Linked DNA regions of Homo sapiens: region 1 is linked to region 2. The links are contacts of gene promoters, found by promoter capture Hi-C in human tissues and cell types (Jung and others, 2019). All regions are on one chromosome and are shown on one strand. The core of a region is centred on a gene start or on the middle of the fragment in contact, and the rest is flanking DNA. Distances in the headings are between cores, read along the strand shown.

Evidence for each region. Contacts are between HindIII fragments. The study calls those that stand out against the background at their distance.
Region 1: the fragment with the promoter of DOHH here is called in contact with the fragment with the promoter of CELF5 in region 2 in 5 of the 25 tissues and cell types used here (IMR-90 fibroblasts, dorsolateral prefrontal cortex, lymphoblastoid cells and 2 more).

The regions. Positions count from the first base shown.
Region 1 is chr19:3,499,310-3,504,829 of GRCh38, reverse strand. DOHH (deoxyhypusine hydroxylase) reads left to right here and starts at 4,156. Exons shown (of 5, transcript NM_001145165.2): 1 at 4,156-4,269. It overlaps LOC105372245 (a long non-coding RNA gene), which reads right to left. Exons shown (of 4, transcript XR_936262.3): 4 at 3,779-4,895. RefSeq lists an enhancer at 4,045-4,154. The HindIII fragment of the contact is 49,740 bases long and covers 1-5,520 here.
Region 2 is chr19:3,222,586-3,227,780 of GRCh38, reverse strand. It overlaps CELF5 (CUGBP Elav-like family member 5), which reads right to left and starts at 3,120. Exons shown (of 13, transcript NM_021938.4): 1 at 2,783-3,120. The coding sequence starts at 3,041. RefSeq lists a silencer at 3,180-3,299. The HindIII fragment of the contact is 19,492 bases long and covers 1-5,195 here.

The DNA.
Region 1 (5,520 bases), core at 2,907-5,406, 280 kb before region 2:
CATAGAGACAGGAAGTGGATTAGTGGTTGCCAAGGGCTGGGAGAGGGGGATCAGGAGTGACTGGAATGGACTTTATTTTGGGGGGTTGATGGATATGTTCTAAAATTGATGTGATGGCCGTGAGCTGTGGCTCACACCTGTAATCCCAGCACTTTGGGAGGCTGAGGCGGGCAGATCACTTGAGGTCAGGAGTTCAAGATCAGCCTGGCCAATCTGGTGAAACCCCATCTCTACTAAAAATACAAAAATGAGCCGGGTGTGCTGGCGCGCACCTGTAGTCCCAGCTACTCGGGAGGCTGAAGCAGGGGAATCACTTGAACCCGGGAAGTGTAGGTTGCAGTGAGCCCAGATCATGCCACCACACTCCACCTTGGGTGTCAAAGCAAGACTCCGTCTCGGAAAAAAAAAAAAAAAATTTATGTGATGATGGCTGCCCGACTCTGAATATACTAAACACCACTGAATTATCACTTTACACAGATGAATTGTACAGTATGTAAACTATATCTCAATACAGCTGTTATTTAAAAAGTTCTTGCCCGGCGCAGTGGCTTGCGCCTATAATCCCAGTGCTTTGGGAGGCCAAGGAGGGCGGATTATGAAGTCAAGAGATCGAGACCATCCTGGTCAACATGGCGAAACCTCATCTCTACTAAAAATACAAAAATTAGCTGAGCGTGGTAGCACGCGCCTGTAATCCCAGCTTCTCGGGAGGCTGAGGCAGGAGAATCCCTTGAACCCGGGAGGCGGTGGTTGAAGTGAACCGAGATTGCACCACTGCACTCCAGAAAAAAAAAAAAAAATCCCCTTTGGAGCTGAGTTAAGGAGAAAAGAGAACAGGGAAAAGGAGGAGGCAAGAGGTTACAGTTTCAGATGCAGTGCTCGGGGATGCTCTTATTGCAAAGATGATGTTTTAATAAAGATCTGAAAGAGGAGCTGGGCGCAGTGACTAACGGCTGTAATCCCGGCACTTTGGTAGGCCGAGGTGGGCAGATTACTTGAGGTCAGGCCTTCAAGACCAGCCTGGCCAACATGGTGAAACCTCATCTCTACTAAAAATACAAAAATTAGCCGGGCATGGTAGCAGGCCCCTGTATTCCCAGCTACTCGGGAGGCTGAGGGAGGAGAATCGTTGGAACCCGGGAGGCAGAGGTTGCGGTGAGCTGAGATCGCGCCACTGCACTCCAGCCTGGGCAACACAGCAAGACTCTGTCTCAGAAGAATAAAATAAAAGGAGAGGAGAGGGAGATTCTAACACAGAAACACAGAGACAGACACACAGGGGTCAAGGCCAGGTGATGACAGTGGCAGAGATTGGAGTGACGAAGCCACAAGCTGAGAAACACCAAGGACTGGCGGCCACCCCCAGAAGCTGGAAGAGGCAGGAAGGATCCTCCCCTGGAGCCTCCAGAGAGGCCACAGATCTGCAGATACCTGGATTCCAGACTTCCGCCCCCCAGGGACTTGCTCAATCCCAGAGGACCCACCGAACAGAAGACGCAGACTTGGTTCTTCTGTGCTATCAGTTTCTCGAAGGTCTACAGAGGCCAGATGCCAAGTTCTCTGACTTACACAGGCCTTGCTTTTGGCTGAGGCTTCGATATCTGCGTCCTGCACCCTGGGATTATCTCCTCCTGGGGAGCATCCTTGGGGCCAGTCACACCTGGCACCCTGCCCTCGTAGCCTTCCTGAGTCAGCACAGCTCCTGGTCCACGGGAAGTCCTCCGTAAACAGCCTGAGCCACAAACATGTTGAGATGACGTCCTCGCAAGGCAGCTGAGGGCTGCAGTGATGCCTGTTATCTGCAGTCAGTTTTCCAACACATAGGAAGGCAATACAATAATTTAAAAAAAAAAAGGGGGGGTGGGCCGTGCACGGTGGCTCACGCCTGTAATCCCAGCACTTTGGGAGGCCGAGGCGGGCGGATCACGAGGTCAGGAGATCGAGACCATCCTGGCTAACACGGTGAAACCCCGTCTCTACTAAAAATACAAAAAAATTAGCTGGGCTTGGTGGTGGGCACCTGTCGTCCCAGCTACTTGGGAGGCTGAGGCAGGAGAATGGCGTGAACCCAGGAGGCGGAGCTTGCAGTGAGCTGAGATCGCCCCATTGCACTCCAGCCTGGGTGACAGAGCGAGACTCTGTCTCAAAAAAATAAAAGTGGGGGTGTCAGCTCCATGAGGCCAGACACTGTGTCTGTTTTGTCCTGTGTCCTCTGTGCCCAGGACACTATCCTCTGTGCTCAGGACACTGTCCAGCACACAGTAGTTGCTCAATAAGTATTTGTGAATGTTGTCTTAAAATAGAAGTTGGCCTTCCAAAAGGATTTCTTTGCTATGCACAGCATTTTATGTTTTTTCATTAATTTTTATTTAATTATTTTTTTGAGATGGAGTCTCACTCTGTCACCCAAGCTGGAGTGCAGTGACGCGATCTTGGCTCACTGCAACTTCCGTCTCCTGGGTTCAAGTGATGCTCCTGCCTCAGACTCCTGAGTAGCTGGAATTACAGGCACCCGCCACTAGGCCAAGCTAATTTTAGTATTTTTAGTAGAGATGGGGTTTCAGCATGTTGGCCATGCTGGTCTTGAACTCCTGACCACAAGTGATCCACCTGCCTTGGCCTCCCAAAGTGCTGGAATTACAGGCGTGAGCTACAATGCCCAGCCATGTTTTTTTATTAATTGCTCATTTTTTTTTTTTTTTTGAGATGGGGTCTTGCTCTGTCACCCAGGCTGGAATCCAGTGGTGTGATTACAGCTCACTGGATCCTTGAACTCCTGGACTCAAGCTATCAAGCCACCTGAGTAGCTGGGCCTACAGGCATGAGCCACCAGGCACAGTTGATTTTTTTTTTTTTTTTTTGGAAATGGAGTCTTGCTCTGTTGCCCAGGCTGGAGTGCAGTGACAGGATCTCAACTCACTGTAACCTGTGTCTCCCAGGCTCAAGCGATTCTCCTGCCTCAGCCACCCAAGTAGCTGGGATTACAGGCTGAGCCACTGCGCCCAGCCAAATTAAAAAAAATTTTTTTTCTGTTGAGACGGGGGCTTACCACATTGCCCAGGCTGGTCTTGGAATCTTGGGCTCAATCGATCATCCTCTCACCCCACAGCCTCCCAAAGTGCCAGGATTACAGGTATGAGCCACCACTCCTGGCAGTCACCCACATTTTAAAAATAAGAGATTGCAAGCAGGGCACAGTAGCTCACGCCTGTAATCCCAGCACTTTGGGAGGCCAAGGCAGGTGGATCACCTGAGGTCAGGAGTTTGAGACCAGCCTGGCCAACATAGTGAAACCCTGTCTCTACTAAAAATACAAAAAGTTAGCTGGTGTGGTGTTGCATGCCTGTAATCCCAGCTACTCGGGAAGCTGAAGCCTTTTTGTATTTTTAGTAGAGATGGGGGTTTCACCATGTTGGCCAGGCTGGTCTCGAACTCCTGACCTCAAGTGATAACACCCACCTCGGCCTCCCAAAGTGTTGGGATTACCGGTGTGAGCCACCGTACCCGGCCTCTTTCAGGTCTTTCTTCAGATGTCACCACCTCAGATTCTGGCCACCCTTCCTGAAACTGCACACCCTATACATACACCGCCCTTGGCTACCGAATTTTTTCTCGTTAGCCTTTTTCACCATCTAATAGGTATTGCATTTACTTATCGTGTTATTTTCTGTCTCTATAACAACACTGGGAGGCGTACGAGGGTAAGGGCTGAAGGCTCTCTTGTCCTCAAGGCCATGTACTATTTATTACATACATGAATGAATGAACGACTGCATTTCTTCCTTTTTTTATTCCTCACCTACTTAAGGTTCGAGCTCCCTGAGCCCATTGGCCAACACCTCTGGAGTCTGACCACGCCTAGAAACACTGCGCATGCTCCGTTGCTAGCCAGCCCAGGCAGGGCGCTGAATCGGCACAAACCAGTCTCACTTCTTGTACCGCAGTGGGGAGGTTGGAGAGAATTTTTTCCCATGAAAGGGCATACGTTGCCCGTCCCCTTCCCCGAAGAACGCACTAGGAATACTGTTCCTGCGTTTGCATGAGCTGTGGCACCAGCACCGACTCAGCCTTCCGGGCCTCCCTCATGCACGGAGCCTCTCACTAGGTCTCACCCGCGGCTGCGTTGGTGCCGTCCGGCACGGTCACGTGGGCGAGAAAATGGCGGCCCCCAGACCGCACTGCGGGCGTCGCGGCAGGTGAAGCGGTGGTGGCAGAGGCGCCTGCGGTTACTGGCCGGGCCGACGGGTCCTGAGTCTCCAGAGCTCGGTGAGGCGTCCCGGAGGCGGCGATCACGGTGTGGGGCCCGGGTCTGGCGGGCGGTGGCACCGGGAGCGCCTCGTTAGGGAATCCGGTCTCAGGGATTCGTTGACTGTGGATGGGGCGGGTTAAGGGGTCTCGAGTCCCGGCGATCTCTTTCCTCTGGGATTTTTTACATGAAAGAGTGCCCACCTCACGTCCTGAAGCTCCTATGTCGTACGGTTGGGTCTCAATGGTCCCCAGTGCCCTGCCAGCTCGCACAGGCCTGCCCTCTGGTTTCTGATGACCCCTCTTTAAAGGTGTCACTCTCCTTTGATGGTCACCTGTGCTTAGGTGGCTACACTGCCCTCGTCAAGCCCAGGCAGCCTTGCTGACGCCACTGTTCACCAGAGAGGGCTGCCAGCATGCCATAGCCAGCCTGTCTTGAGATGAAGCATCCGCCAGGTTCTCAGCCGATCTGGAAAGAGAGGGGTCCCTTCTCCCCTTGGCTGTGTTCTTTTATCCTAAGTCATTCAACAAAGCGTTGGTGGTTTAGAGCCCGACTCTGGAGCCAGACTTCCTGGATTCCTAACTCTTCACGCTGCTCCCAAGCAAGTTCCCAAGCACAGTCCCAAACTGTGCCTCAGTTTCCTCACCTGTAAAATGGGGACAATCTTAGTAACTACCTCACAGGGTAGTGATGTAGATCGAATGAATTAATGAATGTAAAGAGCATGGAGTGCCTGGCGCGTAGCAAATGCTACATAAGTGTCAGCTGCTATTGTCACGGTTGTCGTTTTTATTTTATTTATTTATTTTGAGACAGGGTCTTGCTTTGTAGCTCAGTCTGGAATGCAATGGCACGATCTCGGCTCACTGCAACCTCCGCCTCTCGAGTTCAGGCGATTCTCCTACCTCAGCCTCCCGAGTAGCTGGGATTACAGGCGCCCACCACCACGCCCAGCTAATTTTTGTATTTTTAGTAGAGATGGGGTTTCACCATGTTGGTCAGCTGGTCTCGAACTCCTGAACTCAGATGGTCTGTCCACCTCGGCCTCCCAAAGCGCTGGGATTACAGGCGTGAGCCACCGCGCCCAGCCGGTTATTGTTTTTATTGAGGCCCTACTGCGTGCAGGTCATTGCACTAAGTGCTGGGAATACAACAGTGACCAAGATAGACTCAGTCCCAGCCTTCAGAGTTCTATTCTAATGAGGGATAAGACCAATCACAAGCAACTAAACCAATACTTTCCAATATGATATCTAGGAGTCTTAGGCGCC
Region 2 (5,195 bases), core at 1,871-4,370:
AGCTCCGGTAAATGTGGGACCCAGGGTATGTCTCTCAAGCCCTCAGTTTCCCAGAAATGCGCTGTCACTCGGAGCCCACCTCCATGGCGATGGGTTCCATGGGGAAATCAAACAAGTCCCTGCAGCCTGGACACCAAGGAAGGGCTAGAGGTGGTACCAGCTGACCCCCTCCGGGCTTGTACCAGGAGCCGGGTGCACCTCCAGGGTGTTCTCATCCCACCCCACTCTACTCCTTACAGATCTCCTGTGCCCAGTCTCATGGGCCCCGCCGGGCATCCAGGGAAAGGGATTTCTCTCCAGGCCTGGGGTCCATATCCCCAAGGCCCTGCCACTCTGAACAGGCACACTAAACCACGCCAGGGCTCCCAGAAACAGCCCTAATAAGGTCATGTTGGTGGCAGGTGTCTGAACTCACTCCTCTCCCCAAAAATCCTGACTTCCCATTCACCATTCCACCTCCCTTCAGCCAAGGCCCAGAGAGGGCCCAGAGAGGGGCAGTCACTAGCCAGAAGTCACACAGCTGAGCCCCAAACGCAAACCTGGATCACAGATGCTGATTCTGAAGACACCCCCCCACCCCTTCGTGCCAAGCACCTGCAGGCAAAGACCAGGTGAAGTCCAGCCAGGCCCCACGCAGGTGGGGATTCACTTCCCCGAGGGTACTGGACCCATTTTCGACACGAGGTGAAGCCCCTGTATCTCACACACAGACGGACCTGGGACCCCTAAAAAGTGGAGGGTGATTGCCGGCTGTCGTGCACACGGCTTCTCAATTCTCACCCTCCAAGGAAAGCCCGCAAATGGGAAATACCCCCGAGGTACCCCAGGGACCCCAACATTCTCCAACCTGTAAAAAAAGAACTGGGGATGCGTCATGGTCCTGCTCTGTTGACAGCAGGGAAACTGAGGCTCAGGGCCAGGTGAAAACCCAGCCCCAGCCCCTCCTTCACCCCTCACTTCTCCCGTGCCCAGGTTTCCCAGAGATTTAAAAATAAGAAGGAAAAAAAAAAAAAGATGAAGAAGAGTCACCAGGATGCTCCAGTCCCTGCACCCCCACCTGTCTCTCCGACCTAGAGCTCAACCAGCGGCCTTTCAATGCAACCGTTTGGGGGGCCATGTGGACTCCCCCATTCCCACGGGAATCTTTCTAGAAATGGGTGCTTTGGGTGTACCCAGGGGTGGGGGCGTGTGGGAAAAGCCCACCTATCACCTCTGGACTCCAGATATTGACTTATGGGGGCCGCATGGGAGCCCCTCTGCCCTCCTAGGCCACATGGAGGAGTTAGATTTTTCAGGCCCAATTTTGTGTGTGTGTGTGTGTGTGTGTGTGTGTGTGTGTGATGGTTGGTTTTGAAAAGAGATGGGGAATGGGGAGGGGTTTCTTTCCTCCCTCAAGATAACCAGCTGGAGGGTCTAGCTGAAGTGACAGGCCTGGGCCCCATCTCACCAGACCCTCCCTAGGGCCTTCTTGAACCCCTTCATTCATTCATTCATTCATTCATTCATTCATTCAATTCATTCATTCAATAAACATGCATTCATGCTTACCGGGCACGCAGCGCTGGGGAAAAAGTGGGTGTAAAATAGGTCATGGGCCCCGGTCCTTCCCCAAGGCCTCTCCAGGGTCTTCCTGGAGGATGGGAGGGGGAGGGCCGGGGGTGTCCAGCACAAGGCCTTTGAAGTGGCACCCCCAGTCCCCAACACCTGACCGGAAGGCTGTCAAAGCCACCCCAATTCAGACGCTGGGCCCATGATGGGAACCAAGGGCTGGGGATACAATTGCCGGACACCCCCACCCGGGATGCCATCGGAGGGAGAATCCAGTGGGAGGGAGGCAGACAGGCCTGAGGCCGCCCACGCCTCCCTCCTCCTCCCTGTCCACCCCAGAATTTGGGCTCTGCCCAGATGGACACGTCCAAGCTCATTGTCTTGGGCCTGAGACCCCAACACATTGCTAAGAGGCTCGGCCAGTTTCAACTTGAGCCCAAGGTGGAGGCGGGGGAGGGGGAGGGCAGAGAAATGGAGGAGAGAATGCTGATCCACGCGGAGGTGGTGGGGCCAGGGGGTGGGCAGCGACGGGAGCCTCTCCGCCACCCGAGGCAGGCGAGGCGGGCGCGTCCCCCCGAGCCGGGCGCCCCCAACCCGTCTTCCTTTGTAGTTACCGATTAGCCTGGGGTCCTGGGCATCCGTGTCCCCCGCGGCCGGACCTGCCCCGCCGGCCTGGCTTTGTGAAAATAACCAAAGCAATGGAGTCCGCAGGTGCAAACTTCCCCGACGGGGCCTGGGGAGGCTGAATGAATGGGGGTGGGGGGGCAGGGAGGGGTGCCGGCGTTCCCGAGGCTCCCCTGGCAAACGGGCAGGAAAGAGTGGGGTGAGGGAGGGAGGAAGGGGTGGGGGTCTGGGGGATGGAAGGGTGAGGGAGGGAGGGAGGGAGAGAGAGGGTGCTGTGGGGGGAAGGATGAGAGGTCGAGGGAGATGGGAGAGAAGAGAAAGGGAGAGAGAGAGGGAGAGAGAGAGGGAGAGAGAGAGGAGATGCCGGAAGGTGGGGAGGGAGGGAGAGGGGGCGGAGGAGGGGAGGGGGCCCGCTCGGATCTGTCAGCTGCACCCCCAGAGAGGGGAGGAGGGGTGGGTGGGAGGGAGGGGGTAAGAACCGATGCTCCGGCAGAGGCAGGCAGAGGAGGGAGGTGAGCAGAGGAGGGATGGTGATGGGGGAGAGAAGATGCCGGAAGGTGGGGTGGGAGGCGGAGGGAGGGGGAGAGGGGGGAGGGGGCCGGGCGCCCACCTTTGTGCATCCCCGTGTAGGGGTCTTTGAGCACCGTGAGCTCGTAGATGCGGCCGAACTGCTCGAAGAGCGGCTTGAGGTCCTTCTCGTCCAGGTGCCGCGGGATCTGGCCCACGAAGAGTTTGATGGCGTCCAGGTCCTTCATGCCGTCGGGCTGCCCCCCGGGGGGCTCGGGCCCGCTGCTGCCCACGGGCGAGGGCCGCGGCTGCAGGAGCTGCTGCTGCTGCCGGCGCGCCTCGCTCTCCGTCAGGCGGGCCATGGCGGGCGCGGGACCGAGCCGGCGGCGGCGGCGGCGGGCGGCGGGCGGACTCGCAGCTGGAGCGGCGGCCGCGCCTCCCGCCTCCCTCCCGGGCCCCCGCGCCCTCCTCCCGCCCGCGCCCGCCCCGGCATCGGGACCACAAAGGCGGCTCCGCAGCGGCCCCTGGCGGCCGCGCCGCGCGGGGCAGCCGGCGCCTCCCCGCATCCCCGGGCCGCGGGGGGAAACTGAGGCCGGAAGGCCCCGGGCCCCGCCTACGGGTGGGCGAGGGCGGAGCTGCGGGCGGGACGGGCCTTAGCCGGCTTCCCAGGGGTCCCCGCCGGCTCCCGCGGAGGGCATCGGCCGGAAGAATGTCAAAAGTTGCTGGGATAATGTAGGGGGCTTGTCGTTGAAAGCGCCCGTGATCCTTAAAGTAGGTAACTCATCAATAATATTAATAACACTAATAATATGGCTGGGCGCGGTGGCTCACGCCTGTCATCTCAGCACTTTGGGAGGCCGAGGTGGGTGGATCACTTGAGGTCAGGAGTTCGAGACCAGACTGGCTAACACGGTGAAACCCCGTCTCTACTAAAGAATACAAAAATTAGCTGGGCTCGGTGGCGGGGGGTGCCTGTAATCCCAGCTACTCGGGAGGCTGAGGCAGGATAATCACTTGAACCCAGGAGGCGGAGGTTGCAGTGAGCCAAGATTGTGCCATTGTACTCCAGCCTGGGCAACAAGAGCAAAACTCCGTCTTGGTAAAAAAAAAAAAAAAAAACACCTAATAATAACAACACTAATAATAATTAATCAAGAGCAAGACAAAGTGCTCCCACTAATCACGACAGCACAGGAGAAATGGTAAAAGTATCTTCCAGTTCTATAGGGTGCTTACACATAGAAAGTGTCCTTGGCCCTTTAAGTATGTAACTCATCAATAATGTCATCAACAAGGAGGGAGACTGGCTCGCACTGATAATGACAGGATAGGAGAAATACTGAAGTATCTCCCAGCTCTAAAGTGCCCGTGATCCTTTACGTATGAAACTCATCAATAATATTAATAAAAATAATAATACGTGCTGGCCGTGGTGGCTCACACCTGTAATCCCAGCACTTTGAGAAGCAGAGTCAGGAGGACCACTTGAGCCCAGGAGTTGGAGACCAGCCTGAGCAACATAGTGAGACGCCATTGCTGTAAAAAATAAGAAAACAGGCCAGGCACGATGGCTCACACCTGTAATCCCAGCACTTTGGGAGGCTGAGGCAGGTGGATCACCTGAGATCAGGAGTTCGAGACCAGCCTGATCAACATGGAGAAAACTCTGTCTCTACTAAAAACACAAAAATTAGCCAGGCATGGTTGTGCATGCCTGTAATCCCAGCTACTCAGGAGGCTGAGGCAGGAAAATCGCTTGAACCCGGGAGGCGGAGATTGCAGTGAGCCGAGATTGCGCCATTGCACTCCAGCCTGGGCAACAAGAGTGAAACTCTGTTTGAGAAAAAAAAAAAAAAAAATCAGCCAGGAGTGGTTGGTGTGCACCGTTGGTCCCAGCTACTCGGAGGCTGCGGTGGGAGCATCGGTTGATCCCTGGGATATTAAAGCTGCAGTGAACCAGGATCGCACCACTGCCTCTGGTCTAGGCGACAGAATGAAATCTTGTCTCAAAAAAAAAAAAAAAAAAAACACTTCCCAAAGATGTCCCATAATTAAAGCCCAAGTCCTTCTTGAGGCCCACAAGGCTCTGCGTGTCCTGTTCTGCCTTGTCCCCACCTTCCCCTGCTCCCTCTCTCCCCCTCCTCACTGCTGCAGCTACACAGGCCTCCTCGCTGTTCCTCTCACTTGTCAGGTGCGGTCCTGCCTCAGGGCCTTTGCACGGGCTGTACCCTTTGTCTGGGATGTGCTCTCCCCAGATGATGTGTGGCTCATTCCTTAATTCCCCATCACTTTCCCCATCTACCTTATCTAAAACCGCTCAGTCACCATTATCTCCTTTCTCAGCCTTCTTTTTCCCTCCACAGAGTTACACCCATTTAAAATTTTATTTTCATTTTTATTTTTATTTTTTTCGAGATGGAGTCTCTCTCTGTCGCCCAGGCTGAAGTGCAATGGTGTGATCTTGGCTTACTGCAACCTCCACCTACCAGGTTCAAATGATTCTCCTGCCTCAGCCA